2 separate regions of the Homo sapiens genome follow, and region 2 is linked to region 1. The links are contacts of gene promoters, found by promoter capture Hi-C in blood cells and fetal thymus (Javierre and others, 2016). All regions are on one chromosome and are shown on one strand. Each heading gives the region's core, a stretch centred on a gene start or on the middle of the fragment in contact. The rest is flanking DNA. Distances are from core to core; before and after follow the strand shown. Region 1 holds the start of RDH10-AS1 (RDH10 antisense RNA 1). Region 2 overlaps STAU2 (staufen double-stranded RNA binding protein 2).

Region 1 (6,543 bases), core at 3,571-6,070:
CGTAAATTCGAGTCATTTTGTTTTACATTAAAAAATATCATCCACAAATAGGCAATACCCAAAAAAGAAATCTAGGGACCTTAAACATATGAAAAAACTTAATAGAAGTCAAAAATGACACTTAGAAAAAGATACAAGAGCTCAGAGTACTAAAGACAAAAAAGAATGTGTGTACCCCATTGGTGGTTCTCCTGTCCATCGTTGGCAAGATGTAGATTATAGCTGGGCCCAGTGGCATGCACCTGTAGTTCCAGCTACTTAGGAGGCTGAGATGGGAGAATTGCTTGAGCCCAGGAGTTCGAGACCAGCCTGGGCAAAATAGAGAGACCCCCATCTCTTTTTTTTTTTTTAAGTGAATAAAAAAATGTAAATTGATGCAATATTAAAATGTGCATACCCTTCAATTCGATAATCTTCCAGGAAATTCTCTTAAGGAAGTTATCAAGTCCTGGCACTGTAATCATAACACTTTGGGAGGATCACTTGAAGCCAGGACTTTAAGACCAGCCTGGGCAACATAGGATGACCCCTGTCTCTACAAAAAATAAAAATAATTAGCCATATGTGGTGGCATGCACTTGTACTTACAGCTACTCTGGAAGCTGAGGCAGAAGAATCACTTGAGCCCAAAAGTTCAAGGCTGCAGTGAGCACTCCAGACTAGGCAACAGAGTGAGACCCTGTCTTAAAAAAAAAAAGAAAATTGTCAAACAAATGTATGCTAGTATGTACAAGATTTTATTGCAGCATTGCCTATAATAATAATAATAAATGGTAAACAACTAACTGGTTAATGATAGGCTGCTATTAAATAAATTATGGTACACCCACGCAATAGAATATTATGTAGACATAAAAAAAAGTGACAATTCTGTATTTTTGACATTGAAAGATGTTTATGATATAGTAAAAGTGAAAAAAATCAGGTGACAAAATTATCATATAATCCCATTCTTGTATTTGTGTGTTGTTATAGGCTGAATGTTTGCATACCTTCAAAATTCATATGTTGAAATCCTAACCTCCAATGTGATGATATGAGGATGTGGGGCCTTGGAAGGTGATTAGGTCATATGGGTAGAACCCTCATGAATAGGATTAGTGTCCTTATAAAAGTGACGCCAGAGAGATTTTTTGCCTTTTCTGCCATGTGAGGTTACAACAGTCTGTGTGGAAACAGGGCTCTCGCCAGACAGTGAATTTGTCGGCACCTTGATCTTGGGCTTTCCAGCTTCCAGAACTGTGAGAAATAAATTTCAGTTGTTTATAAGCCATAGTAGTTTTGTTATAGCAACCAAAATGGACTAAGATGCATGTATATTGATAAATACATAGAGAATTTTCAAAAGTCTGGAGGAATGTCTGCTACGTATGGTGGTTATGTATGCATGCTTTAACTTTTCCTCAGTAAAACAAAATAAATTTTATATTCCATGTGAACTATCCATGACCTGGCAGTCAGGTGAATGAGTTAGCTGCCTCCCTTCATGCACTGACTACCTGTCCACATTGGCCATGACCGGAGATTCCAGTTACATGATCCCCATCAGGACATGAGTCTAAAGCCACTAGCAGAGAAACTCTTCCCAGACCAGAGCAGGTCAGACAGGGTGGGTGGCCTTTTTTTCTCTTGCCTGCAAGAGCAGAAGAGGAAGAAACTGCTCCTCAGATGGGCAGGTTCATGAGGACAAAGGTGGTGACCGTCCTCAGTAGCTCTGCTGTGGAATTAGGACACTCAGGTGAGAGCTGGGACAGCCTGACTGAAGTCCTACTCCACAAAGCAGTGGTAAACGGGCAGTGGGGAGGAGGAATGTAAGACCCTTTCCCCCAAGGGGTCACCAAGTCCAGACCTAATTGTCATGCCTCCTTACTGAGGCACATCCCTGAGCAAATGGGTCACAAAGCAGCTAGCTCCAGGCACCAGCACATATTTGAAGTAAACACTTGGGCTTGAGCGTGGCCCAGGCTACAGAAAAGCAAAAACGTCTCTGGATGAATGGAGAAGCAAACAGGAGGGAGTTCAAGCAAAAGTCAGGATGGTCCCTAGAAGTAGGTCCTACTTTATCTGACAGTCCACCAGAACTTTTTCTTCTGTTATTTACTGACACTTCCAGCTGGGTGCTATTGTCATTGCATGTCTCTTCAGGCATTTCATATTTTACCTCCCTTATTATTAGGCTGGCCATGCCCCGAGGAAAGGCTAGTTTCACAAATCTCATCCCACCTCTTCAGTACCAAGTATGGTGCCTTGTGCAGTAGATCATTCCTTTGATATGTGGTTATTGAGAGCCTGCTATGCCAGGCACCATGATAGGCATTGGAGAGTCTGTAGTGACCAGGACAGATGGGCCTCCTAACTCAATGTATGCACATTCTAGAAGATGAGCACCATACACTGTACAAATAAGTAAACAAGAGAATATGAAACTGAACGCAAGGAAGTCCACCTGCCATTCGACTCAATGAGCCCAGTCCAGAGAGAGCCTGAGATGGGAGAAGTGAATCTGCTGTTTCCTCCTGAGCATCTCCCCATGCTAAATGAGATTCAGCTGTTAATGTATTTTCTTATAAAACATCATGCTTAAATAAAAGCCAACGGCTTCCTCTGGTGTTTGACCACAGGAAACATCAATGTGTTCCAATTTGGAGGAAAAAATGGTTCTATCAAACTTACTGAGTGATGGTATGTGTTTTTCAACATGGTCACCTCTCTAGGGAATTTTCAAGGGTTATGTTGATTACATGTGATTTCCACATCTTATTTATTTATTATTTTGAGACAGGGTCTTGCTCTGTTGCCCAGGCTGGAGTGCAGTGGCACTATCATGGCTCACTGCAGCCTTGACCTCCTAGGCTCAAGCAATCCTCCTGCCTCAGCCTCTCTAGCAGCTGGAACTTTTCAGGTGTGCACCACCATACTCGGCTAATTTTAAAATAATTTTCACATTTTTTTTTAATAGATACAGAGTCTTGCTATGTTCCTCAGGCTGATCTTGAACTCCTCGGCTCAAGCAATCCTCCTGCCTCAGCCTCCCAAAGTGTTGGGATTACAGACGTGAGCCACTGTGCCCAGCCTGTGTGGACTTTAGAACCTAATCTCTAATAAAGTTGGACTCCTCTGCCTGTTATGCTGTCCACTGACTATCCACTAATTCAATCTGTGGCATTCACTAACTCAGTACCGTGTGTTACAAAGTCCCTACTATGTGTCAGTAACTATTCTACACACCGAAACTAGAGAGATGGATCCAAAGAAGTACCACTCTCAAAGAGGGAACAATATCTTCAATATCTAATATTTGTATAATGTTTTACATCTACAAAGTGTTTTGTAATGCTGATCCAGTTTTATCTACCCAGCATCTCTCATTTTCTGGGATTGCACCTCTGTCTTAGCTTGAGCTACTATAAAAATACCATAGACTGGGTGGCTTAAACAACGGATGTTCATTTCCCAATTCTGGAGCTGGGAGGTCCAAGATCAAGGTACTGGCAGATTTGGTTCTTGGAAGATCCTCTTTCTGGTTTATAGATGACTTTTCACTGTGTTCTCTTATGACCTTTCATTGGTGTATGTGAGGAAATCTCTGTCTTCCTCTTCTTAAAAAGGTGCAAATCCCATTTTGAGGATACCAGCCAAGATCTCATCGAATCCTAATCACCACCAAAGGCACCAACTCCTAACACCAGCACTTTGGGATTTAGGGCTTCAATGTATCAAACTTAGGGGCCTACAAACATTCAGCCCGTAGCAACCCCGTAGCACCCATACCTTTAGGAAATACTCTTTCCCACACTGCAATCCTGTGTTCTCAGTGGGAGCCATCACAGTTTCTAAACTGTGGCTCCCCTGGTCATATTTAATTGACTGAAGTGGGGCCACAAGGCTTGAGTTGGGTCAGTCATGATAATTTTTGCCCACTGTCCAAACTGACCGGTCAATGGAAGAGTACCCAGCCCCAACCTGGCCAATCAAAGTTCTTTCCAGGATTTGTCCACCAGAAACTACAGAAAGAGACTACAGAAAGTGCTGAAGCTCTGTGATCTGTGGCGTGTGAACAGTAGCTGGCCATGTTTCCAGGGAGGAATATGGCACCAGTGCTCAGAGGGCAGCAGGAGTGTGAAGGATGGAGAGAGAGCCTCCTGCAGCAGCTGTTTCTGCCACCCTGAGGGCCTCCATACCGCTGCCTCTTCCAGGGCAATAGGAGATTACCCATAAATTCTTCCTTTTGACTGAGCTGGTTCAAAATGGTTTTCTGGGCCAGACGCAGTGGCTCACACCTGTAATCCCAGCACTTTGGGAGGCTGACGTGGGCAGATCACTTGAGTTCAGGAGTTTGAGACCAGCCTCGCCAACATGGAGAAACCCCATCTCTACTAAAAATACAAAAATTAGCCAAGGGTGAAGGTGGTGCACCTGTGGTCCCAGCTACTCAGGAGGCTGAGGCAGGAGAATCACTTGAACCAGGGAGGTGGAGGTTGCAGTGAGCCAAGATGGCACCACTGCAATCCAACCTGGGGGATAGAGTGAGACTCTGTCTCAAAAAATAAATAAATAAATAAATAAAAATAAAAGATGGTTTTCTCTGTGTCACTTACAACCAAAGTGCCTGAGATATTCTTTTTCAGACATCTTTTCATTTTCTCCTCACCTTGAGGAAGGAGCTCAGAGAGGTTAAGTGAACTGCCCAATATCCCACTGCTCCAGAAGAGAGCAGCAAGAATTCAAATGCTGCTTCACATCCTGGTTCACGCCCTCAAAAGAGGTTTCCCGCCCTGGATGCCAGCCTCTCTCACAGGTGTTTTCTGTACTCTCAGTGGTGTCTTTTTTACAGCCCAGAGCCGCACATGTCCTGTCCGTGTTCCGGTCCTGCGGTGACTCACAGTCACATCACAGTGCAGGCAGACGCTCCCCTGACAGCCCATTGGCTCTTCGTTATCTGACTCCTGCCTACCTCGCCCAGCCCCCTCCTCCTCCCTCCAGCTCATGTGTGCTCCCCATCCAACCCCCTGCGTGAGTCACATGCTGCTCCCTCGGCCAGAGCCTTTGTTTGCCTGCCTTGGAGGCCTGGCATATGCCCCAGTCCCCACCCACCCAGGAAGCCTCCACTGCCACCTACCACCCAGGCGGAGCCCCGGCCTCCTCCTTCCTCTGTGTCTTCCTGGGATCGACCTCCAACCCAGCAGCTGTCTCATTGTTTTCAAATTCCCAACCTCTGCCTTCCAGAATAAAGGCATGTGGGGACAGGGACAGGAACTTCATCTATCTCTAGCCCCCTGCACAATCCCTGCCACATAGTGGTATTCAGTTTGTTGCTCAGGGGATAAACAAGAGCACCAGAAATATGAAGGTCGATGCAAATATCGAGTATTCATATTTCTTTAATAATCCACATTGTTTGGGAGTCAACTGATGTGATGCTTTGAAGCCAGTGAAAGCTGAACGGGCAAATCTGAAATACCTTTTCAGAGATTCATCTGCACTCTATGTACCCAATTAATGCTGAGCCATTAGTCCTTTCCGAAGCTGCCAGGATCTATTAAGCCATTTAACTTATCCTTCCGCACTTCAGGATCAGTCCCAAGGGCATTTTTTCAGGCCTGGGCAGCCAAAGTATAAATGACTTAAGTGGTGAGCTTTCTCTCACTCCCCCTGGGACCCCAGTCCTCCAAAGCAGAGCTTTAATGGCGCTAAAGCACTGTGAAGCGAGGAAGCGCCTAAAGCTGCCACTAGAGTCGGCCTCAACCCTGAAGGAAATCCTGGTTTGGAGCCCTTGCTCAGGGCGGGCCTTCTGAATAACTGCAACAGGAAAGCACCCTCTGTGGGGTGATTGGAATGGTCCCAGGAAAGTCCCCAGGCCTAAGGATGCCCCTCAGGAATTCACAACAGTGCTTGAAATCCCCTCCATTTATCACTTAATAAGTATTTCTTGAGCACCTACTAGGTGCCAGGCACTTAGGGATTCTGACAGGAATCCTTATAGGTTTGTTATTTTGAGCTAACTGAGGCTTTATCCTGAGCTCAAAAGCAAATATCTCTTGGAGGATAACCCACTGAGCATTATCAAGTCATCAAATACCATCCTTCCCAGGACACCACTAAGGAAGGTGGCAGCTGTATGGGGAGGGTCTTAGGACTCATATGGATACAAGTTGCTGGGGAAAAGAAGAGGAGTGAATCCTGTGGAACACAGGCTAACTCCCTGTGTCATGAGTGGCTGCCATGGGTCAGGTCAAAGGCAACTTCCATTTCCCCACCCCTGCAGCCTCATGAAATTGCAGAGAAACAAGCAGGGTGGGCATGTCAAATACACCTCGTTTATCAGATTCGCCTATATTCCTCAACCTGGTATCCCCCCCCCGCTTTTTTTTTTAAGATGGAGTCTCGCTCTATCACCCAGGCTGGAGTGCAGTAGCGTGATCTCAACTCACTGCAACCTCTGCCTCCTGAGTTCAAGTGATTCTCCTACCTCAGCCTCCTGAGTAGCTGGGACTACAGGCGTGCACCACCACGCTCGACTAATTTTTGTATTTTTAGTACAGA
Region 2 (7,094 bases), core at 2,271-4,770, 140 kb after region 1:
GTTATTTTTTAAAACATATCAGTTACTTTACTAAATGACTTAATTCTTTATTTAGTGCTTTATCTGCTAATATACTATCATAGAATCTTCCAGTGTTCAAATAAAATGTCAATAAAAACTTATACTTTTTATTAGTCAATATGCCCACATTTAACTATATGGTCCCTTACTTAAATCATAAACTACTCTAAGGAATGATTCATAAAGCCAAATATATATATATATATATATATATATGTATAGTTAACACTATTTATTGGATTTACCTAACAAAAATGTGACTATAAAACAATGATTAAAATATCTAAAAGATTATATAAATGAGTATTGTTTTATGATATTAATCTACGGAAGCAACAATTGATTCATACAGTTGTAGAATTCCATTTTGGAACTTTCTCTCACAAGACTGTCCACCTCAAGTTTGTATGTTCTCTTTTGTCTCCCCGCACACATATATGTACACACACAAAGCTGCTCTCTTTTATAAACACATTTTGTTTCAGACACAGTATTACTTAGCAGACACCTCCAAATAACTTGTAGTTATTTCTAAAAATCAAAATCAGATTATACAGATGTCTGCCTCTTTCTTTGAAATCCAATTCAAAAATGAGATGGGTTAATAGAGACCCACTTAAATAGAGAGATGAGGTGAACAAATATAGCAAAATATTAACTATACAATTTAGGTGGTAGGTATGTGGGTATTCACTATAAAATTCTGTCTCTCTTATTCTCTCGGTGTGTGTGTGTGCATCAAAAATACACAAATTTGCTATCAAAAGAATGTTTAGAAAATTCCAAGATGTTTCTGAAAGTGGAAACCTAAATGTATTACTAAAATATGCATACACAGCCTCCTCCCCAGATGTGAAGATGACCACTTTGGAGGAATCAATGCTTACTTAGATGTATATGCTCTGGAATGTGTATGTGTCTGTGTGTTGTAACTGCCACAACTGAAGGAAGTGTGCTAGAATGGAAAGAACTGTATCAGGTATCACAAAGCCTGGGTCTGAGTATCAGCTCTGCCATTTATAAGTTGTACATGTTTAGATCAATCCCTTTACTTCTTTGGGCTTCAATTTCCTCATCTTTGACATAAAAGTGTTGATCTAGACCAGCACAGTCCAACAGAAATATAGTGCAGGCTACATATGTAATTTTTGTAGCCACATCTAAAAAGTAAAAAGAAACAGATGAAATTAATTTTAATAATATTCTTTATTTAACCAACACAGTATACCCAATATATTACCATTTCAACATTTAATCAATAAAAACTTATTACTGAGATCATTTACATTCTTTTGTTTTTTGGTGCTGCCTTTCAAATCCAGTGTGCATTTTATGCTTGGAGCACACATCCCAATTTGGATGAGTCAAATTTCAAATGCTCAATAGCCACATGTGGCTAATGGTTAACGTATTAGACAGCACAGACCTAGACAGTTGCTAATAGTCCTTTCAGTTTTATAATTTTTATTACTTTGTTGTTGAAAATAATATATTAATAAAATTAGCATCAAATTCAGTGCAAGTATATAAAAATCATAGATCAAATGCTTCCATGGAACATCTACTTTCATCAGGAAAGGTTCATTAATTCTTATCTGGCAGTTTAAAATTCTGGATGATTTTTTTCTAACATTGAACAATCATTAAGAAGCAAAGAACTGGCAATTATCTTCTGAACTCAACCTCACAGAAAGTGGATTACTTCATCTATTAAATTGGCTTAAGTCTATTAAATAATTGCCAAGTCCCCATTTCACATTCTATGATGCAGATTTGGCTCTAATCTGAAGCTTTAGATCTTTATGTAATCATAAGAATTGCAAGACTGGTTTTAAAATGAATAAACATCCAAAATTACTGCTATAGCAGTAAAGCTTATTTAATTTCTGCTTTGTTTCATGTAGTCTAAATTATGAAGATTATTAAAGGGCTTTATTTTAGTGAACCACATTTATATAAGCAAATCAATATTCAATAATAAATATTGCAATTCTTGGCAAAGGATTGGGAAAGGCCATGTTCATTAAAACAGGTGATATAAAAGCTGATACTCAGGTTCTAACTGAGAAAAATGTATAAACTATTAGCTATGAAGTATCCCTCGGTAATAAAGACTGAAGTAGAACCTACTTGCATCACAGGACAACTTTTCGAGTTATCAATTACACTTGTAATAGAACCTCTGCAAGTTATTTATCTCCAGGTAAAAATCATACATAATTTCAACTAGCTTATCAGTTTTTATACCAAACTTTACAGAAATTATATAAATGTTCTCCCTGATGTTACTATAATCTTTTGACCCTTTTCTTCCCCCTCAAATTTATAACAGACTAGTAATAACACACTCGAGTGTTTCTTTATCAGTATAATTACCATAACAGAATTATTTCTTAAAAAGAAGTGAATAAAACATCTCACATGCTTTGTCAAAATACAAAAGGTGTTTCTGCAAATCTCTAAATTTTGTTTTAACAAATACACAGTGAAAGCTGGTAATGATACAACTTATGTACACGTGGCAACATAATATACTGATCTCTTAATGTCTAGCACAGGACACATTGTGTTTGTAAATTTGCCAGTAAGATAAAAATCATGTCCGTTGAAGTTAACTTTCTACATGATTTATATTATTTAATGAACATTTAGCAGAGCCAGCCTGCCACATAATACTACCTTATTTCTGGGGGGAAAAAGGTAAACATTATTGCTATGCTGTAGTCACCTATAATTCCTCCAGGCAATTATCTATTACATGTCAGAGACCAGTGAAAAAAGTAATAAAGGCAAAGGCAAAGAAACTCTAAACATAATATGGCCCATGCCCAGCACACTGCCTGGCATTTAGGAGACATTCAGTGTTTGTTGAATGAATGGCCATAGAACATATGTACACAGTACAGTCTACATGTGTGTATACACTGTAGCCTGCATTGATTCCATAGGTAAATAAATACACTATACATTTAGTAGGTATGCATGTTTACTTTTTTTTTTGCTAGAAAACTTTTATCCTGATTCTGAAGTCCAAATCTAGCTCTTCCTTGGGGTGACATAAAAACTCAAGTCTCTTTCCTGCTTTCATCATTAAGTACTTCATTTGTTCATCAAGTATTTGTGTAACTGGCACTATGATAGGCATGGCGCTGACATAAAAAGAAAATCATAAAGACAAACACATAGACTAATAATTATAGTCCTTATTTTGTAAACAAGGGAATTGCTATTTGGGGAGATTAAGAAACTTGCCCAAGGCAACCCAGCAAGTGAGTATATGAACCAAGTGTCAAAGCTGTATCCATATGTTTTTCAACTACCCCATGAGACATAAACATTGAGCAGCTAAGGGAATGTGACGGTTAATTTTATGTGTTAACTTGGCTGTGCTGTGGTGCCCAGTTGCTTGGTCCAACACTAGTCTAGATGTTCCTGTGAAGACATTTTGCAGATGTGATGAACATATATAATCAGCTGATTGAATAAAGCAGATTACCCTCCATAATGTGGGTGGACCTTATCCAATCAGTTGAAGGCCTTAAGAGCAAAAACAGGATTCCCAGAGAAGAAGGAATTCTGCCTTAAGACTGTAACACAGAAATCATCCCTGAGTTCCATCCTGCTGGCCCACCTTCAACTCAAACTGCAATATTAACTCTGCCTGTTTCCAGCCCACTTACCTGCACTATAGATTTTGCACTTGCCAGCCCTCACAATCATGTGCACCAATTATTTAAAATCAATCAGTCTCTCCCCCACCTACTCTCTCAATACATCTATGTCCTGTTGTTACTCTGGAGAACCCTGACTGACACAGGGTGTCATGGCTAAATATGGAGGTTGAGAGGGCATCAAAATGTGGCTAGTAGTGCAATACTTGAAAGTGGATAGGACCCAAATGGACCCAAGATACCAAGGATAAAGCCTTGAGCACAACAGCATTTAAGGGGCCAGCAGAAGTCAAAGAGCCAAAAGGAAGAGATAAGTCAGTCATGGCAAAAGAAGGCTTCACAAAGGAGGGAGGCAATCCTGCAGAAAAGGCAAGTAGGAGGAAGTCTGAGCATAGGCCTTTGTATTTGGCAATCAGTAGGACAAGGGTGACTGTGGCCAGGTCAGTTGCAATGGTGACTGGGATGGTATCCATCCTGTATTCACTGTATTGTCTACCAGTGAATAAGAGGTGAGAAACTAGAAAAAGGTTGGCAGTTGAGGAAAGGAAGAAAACAATAGCTCAAAAAGGACAGAATGGTGGAGGTGGAAGACTGTGTTAGAATTAGGGAGACATTTGTAAGTTGAGGGAAAGGTGTCACTGGAGAAGAAGATAAAGATAGATAGAAACCAGTGAGAAAACAAGTCCCAGGAGTAAGATATCCTTGCATATGGGCTCTAGACCACGGGAGTATGGAATAACTCTAATCAGAAGTGAAATACCTCTGTCAAAGACAAGCAGTGATAGTCAAGAGATTGGCGCTCTCACGGATTGAGCTGAAGCTGGGGCTCCATGCCTTTATTTTATTTATCTTATACTTTTCCAGGGAATTAAGAGGTGAGGTCATCACTGAGAGTTCTTATTAAATAACATATATGTGTCTAGTACCATATGGGATTCAAAAAAGCACAAGACCCATTCTTTGCCAGTCTATCTGTCAAGCTATTATGGTCCAGTATACAGTCTCTCAGAAGCAATGGAGCATTGGTTCCAGGAACCCACATGGATACCCAAATCCACAGATGCTCAAGTCCTTTATACAAAATGGCATAGTATTTGCATATGATCTATGCACATCTTCTGTATACTTTAAATTACCTCTAGATTACTTATAATACCGAATACAATGCCTACCTACCACTTCGTTGGTGTGGATTCAACATACTACTTGGCACATGGCAAATTCAAGTTTTGCTTTTTGAAACTTTGTGAATTTTTTTTTTCCAATTATTTTTGATCACTGGTTATTTGAATCCACAGATGTTGAGGGCTCACTGTAGTTAAATTATCCCTAGTATTAAGTTACACAGTATTTTGTGGGAAACCTTTAACAAACTATGCTTGTTTCTGCCAGTGATTAGTAAAAAAAATATTGTTGGCCCTGTTTTTCATCATTTGTGCACTTTAAAAAAATAGAAGCTTGAAAATGTGATTTCTGCTAGTTATATTTTCGATTAGAAAATTAACCATATGATCTTAGTGGCAATAAGAATATGACCGTGATAAAATTGCACAGTATATTTTAATCTTACTCTGTTCATATGTTTAGAAGACTAAACTTGAGACTAATTATATGATCAATGTCTCCTGTTTTATTATTTTACCTCAGAATATTAAAGTGATTACACAAATAATAAGTAATGATATTTTTCCCTTAAAATATAAAGGAATTTGCACAATTTTCTCACATTCTGCTAAACAAGGAGATGAATGGTTAGAGGCTAAAATCTTTAAGTTCTCCAATGATGCATTAACTAAACCAAAGAGACAACTTTACTCATTTCAAAATGTTTTATTATAACAGCAGTCTTCGAAGGCAAACACAAAAGATTCTACTATGCTTAGATTTTAAAACATAACCAATTTAATGCATCACTAATGATGTACAATAGATGTCTTCTGCAGTACCAATTCAAATAAGAGACTGATGTAATCTGCCAGATACTTCAAAGTAACTAATTTGGTAATAAGAAAATACTTCTTTTGTGCAAACTTTCCTACTTAAAAAAAAACTGCAGAAACCCTCCCAGTTGAATATTTACTAAATAAAAGTACTGAACCCTCATTAAAATGTGATTTAATAAGAAAAAGAGAACCATGTACTTTAGGCCTTCAAAATTTATCTTGAGTAACATTAGGCTTTTAGATGGAAATACATCTCTATACAAAGAAAACAGATATTAATAGCAAATTATGATCTATTTTAGAATTGTGTATTTATATTTGACATCTTAAAATTTTAAATATCTATTACATTTGTTGCTATTATGTTATACACCCTATATACACACACTCCAGATGCCTTATCTATGAAAGTATACTAGTACATTTCACTTCTCTATAAATCTTCCCCAGTATGTGTAAGTAAAACATTTCCCAGACTCTAAACCTCTAAAGGTAAAAGCTTAGGTCAGAGTTTCCTGAGCATATTCTACTATGATGTTAATATGTTTTCCTGGGGAAAGAATCTTAGATTTCTCTTTGCCTTTGTTCTCCCTTACCCATTAGAGAATTCAAAATTTTGGCCTTAATGGGAAAAGAAAGTATAAAATTCAACAAGTATTTCCAAAAGCAAGTTCAATGCAATAATTATTCATTGGCCAAGATATTTGTCAATTGCTCTTTTGGCTCACAAATTCAACCAAAATATAAATGTAAATTAAGATGTTTTCAATTATCTATTGCTTCTTCTCCAGCAGCAGCTAATCCTGAGAAAGTACCTATTATTCCAGAGAGGAAAAAGGAAGCAGGAGTTTCCATTTCTGTTGGCCACTTGGGGGTAGGAGTGTGTGTGCAGAACTAGGACACAGGAGATACTTCTTAGGGCTCCTTCTGCTGATATTCAAAAAACCCAGAATCCAAATTACCTAATTTGTGGAAAACATTTTCTTAAAATTGGATTTTTTTTATGGCTAATAATTGGGCAGAATTAGCATCCATGAAGTTACAGTAGGATTTTCCTTTATTACATCATATTTTAGGATATATGTTCCCAATTAAATAAAAAATTATTGATTTGAACCACTTATAATGTTACCAATAGAGCATTATTATGATACCTATTCTACAGAATTGCAGAAGCACCAGAAAAAAAATTCCTCATAAGAATTTGCTAACTTCTTACTTCATATTAACTGTTGATACATGTCCTATACCAGTGCATTAGCCATAATGCTTGCAAATTTTCTTGACTTCCCCTGACCCACTAGATAGCATTCAAATTCGTCATCCTAGTGTCCAAGATGCTTCACTCTCTGACCTGTACCTCACATTCTAACCCTTGTTCCCACTAATATCCAAAGATCAACCCTATACCTCAACCAAAAGGTCTGTCAAATAAATGACCTTGTGCCTCCCCACTCAG

Evidence for each region. Contacts are between HindIII fragments. The CHiCAGO score rates a contact against its expected background, and 5 or more counts as called.
Region 2: a fragment that was not itself captured here is called in contact with the fragment with the promoter of RDH10-AS1 in region 1 in 1 of 17 cell types (endothelial precursors); the score reaches 5.2 in endothelial precursors.

The regions. Positions count from the first base shown.
Region 1 is chr8:73,351,641-73,358,183 of GRCh38, forward strand. RDH10-AS1 (RDH10 antisense RNA 1) reads right to left here and starts at 4,821. Exons shown (of 6, transcript NR_125388.1): 1 at 4,652-4,821. The HindIII fragment of the contact is 9,950 bases long and covers 1-6,543 here.
Region 2 is chr8:73,495,452-73,502,545 of GRCh38, forward strand. The region is part of intron 13 of STAU2 (staufen double-stranded RNA binding protein 2); the gene reads right to left. Among named protein-coding and RNA genes, the nearest start is that of STAU2-AS1, 79 kb to the left of the region's middle. The HindIII fragment of the contact is 3,254 bases long and covers 1,894-5,147 here.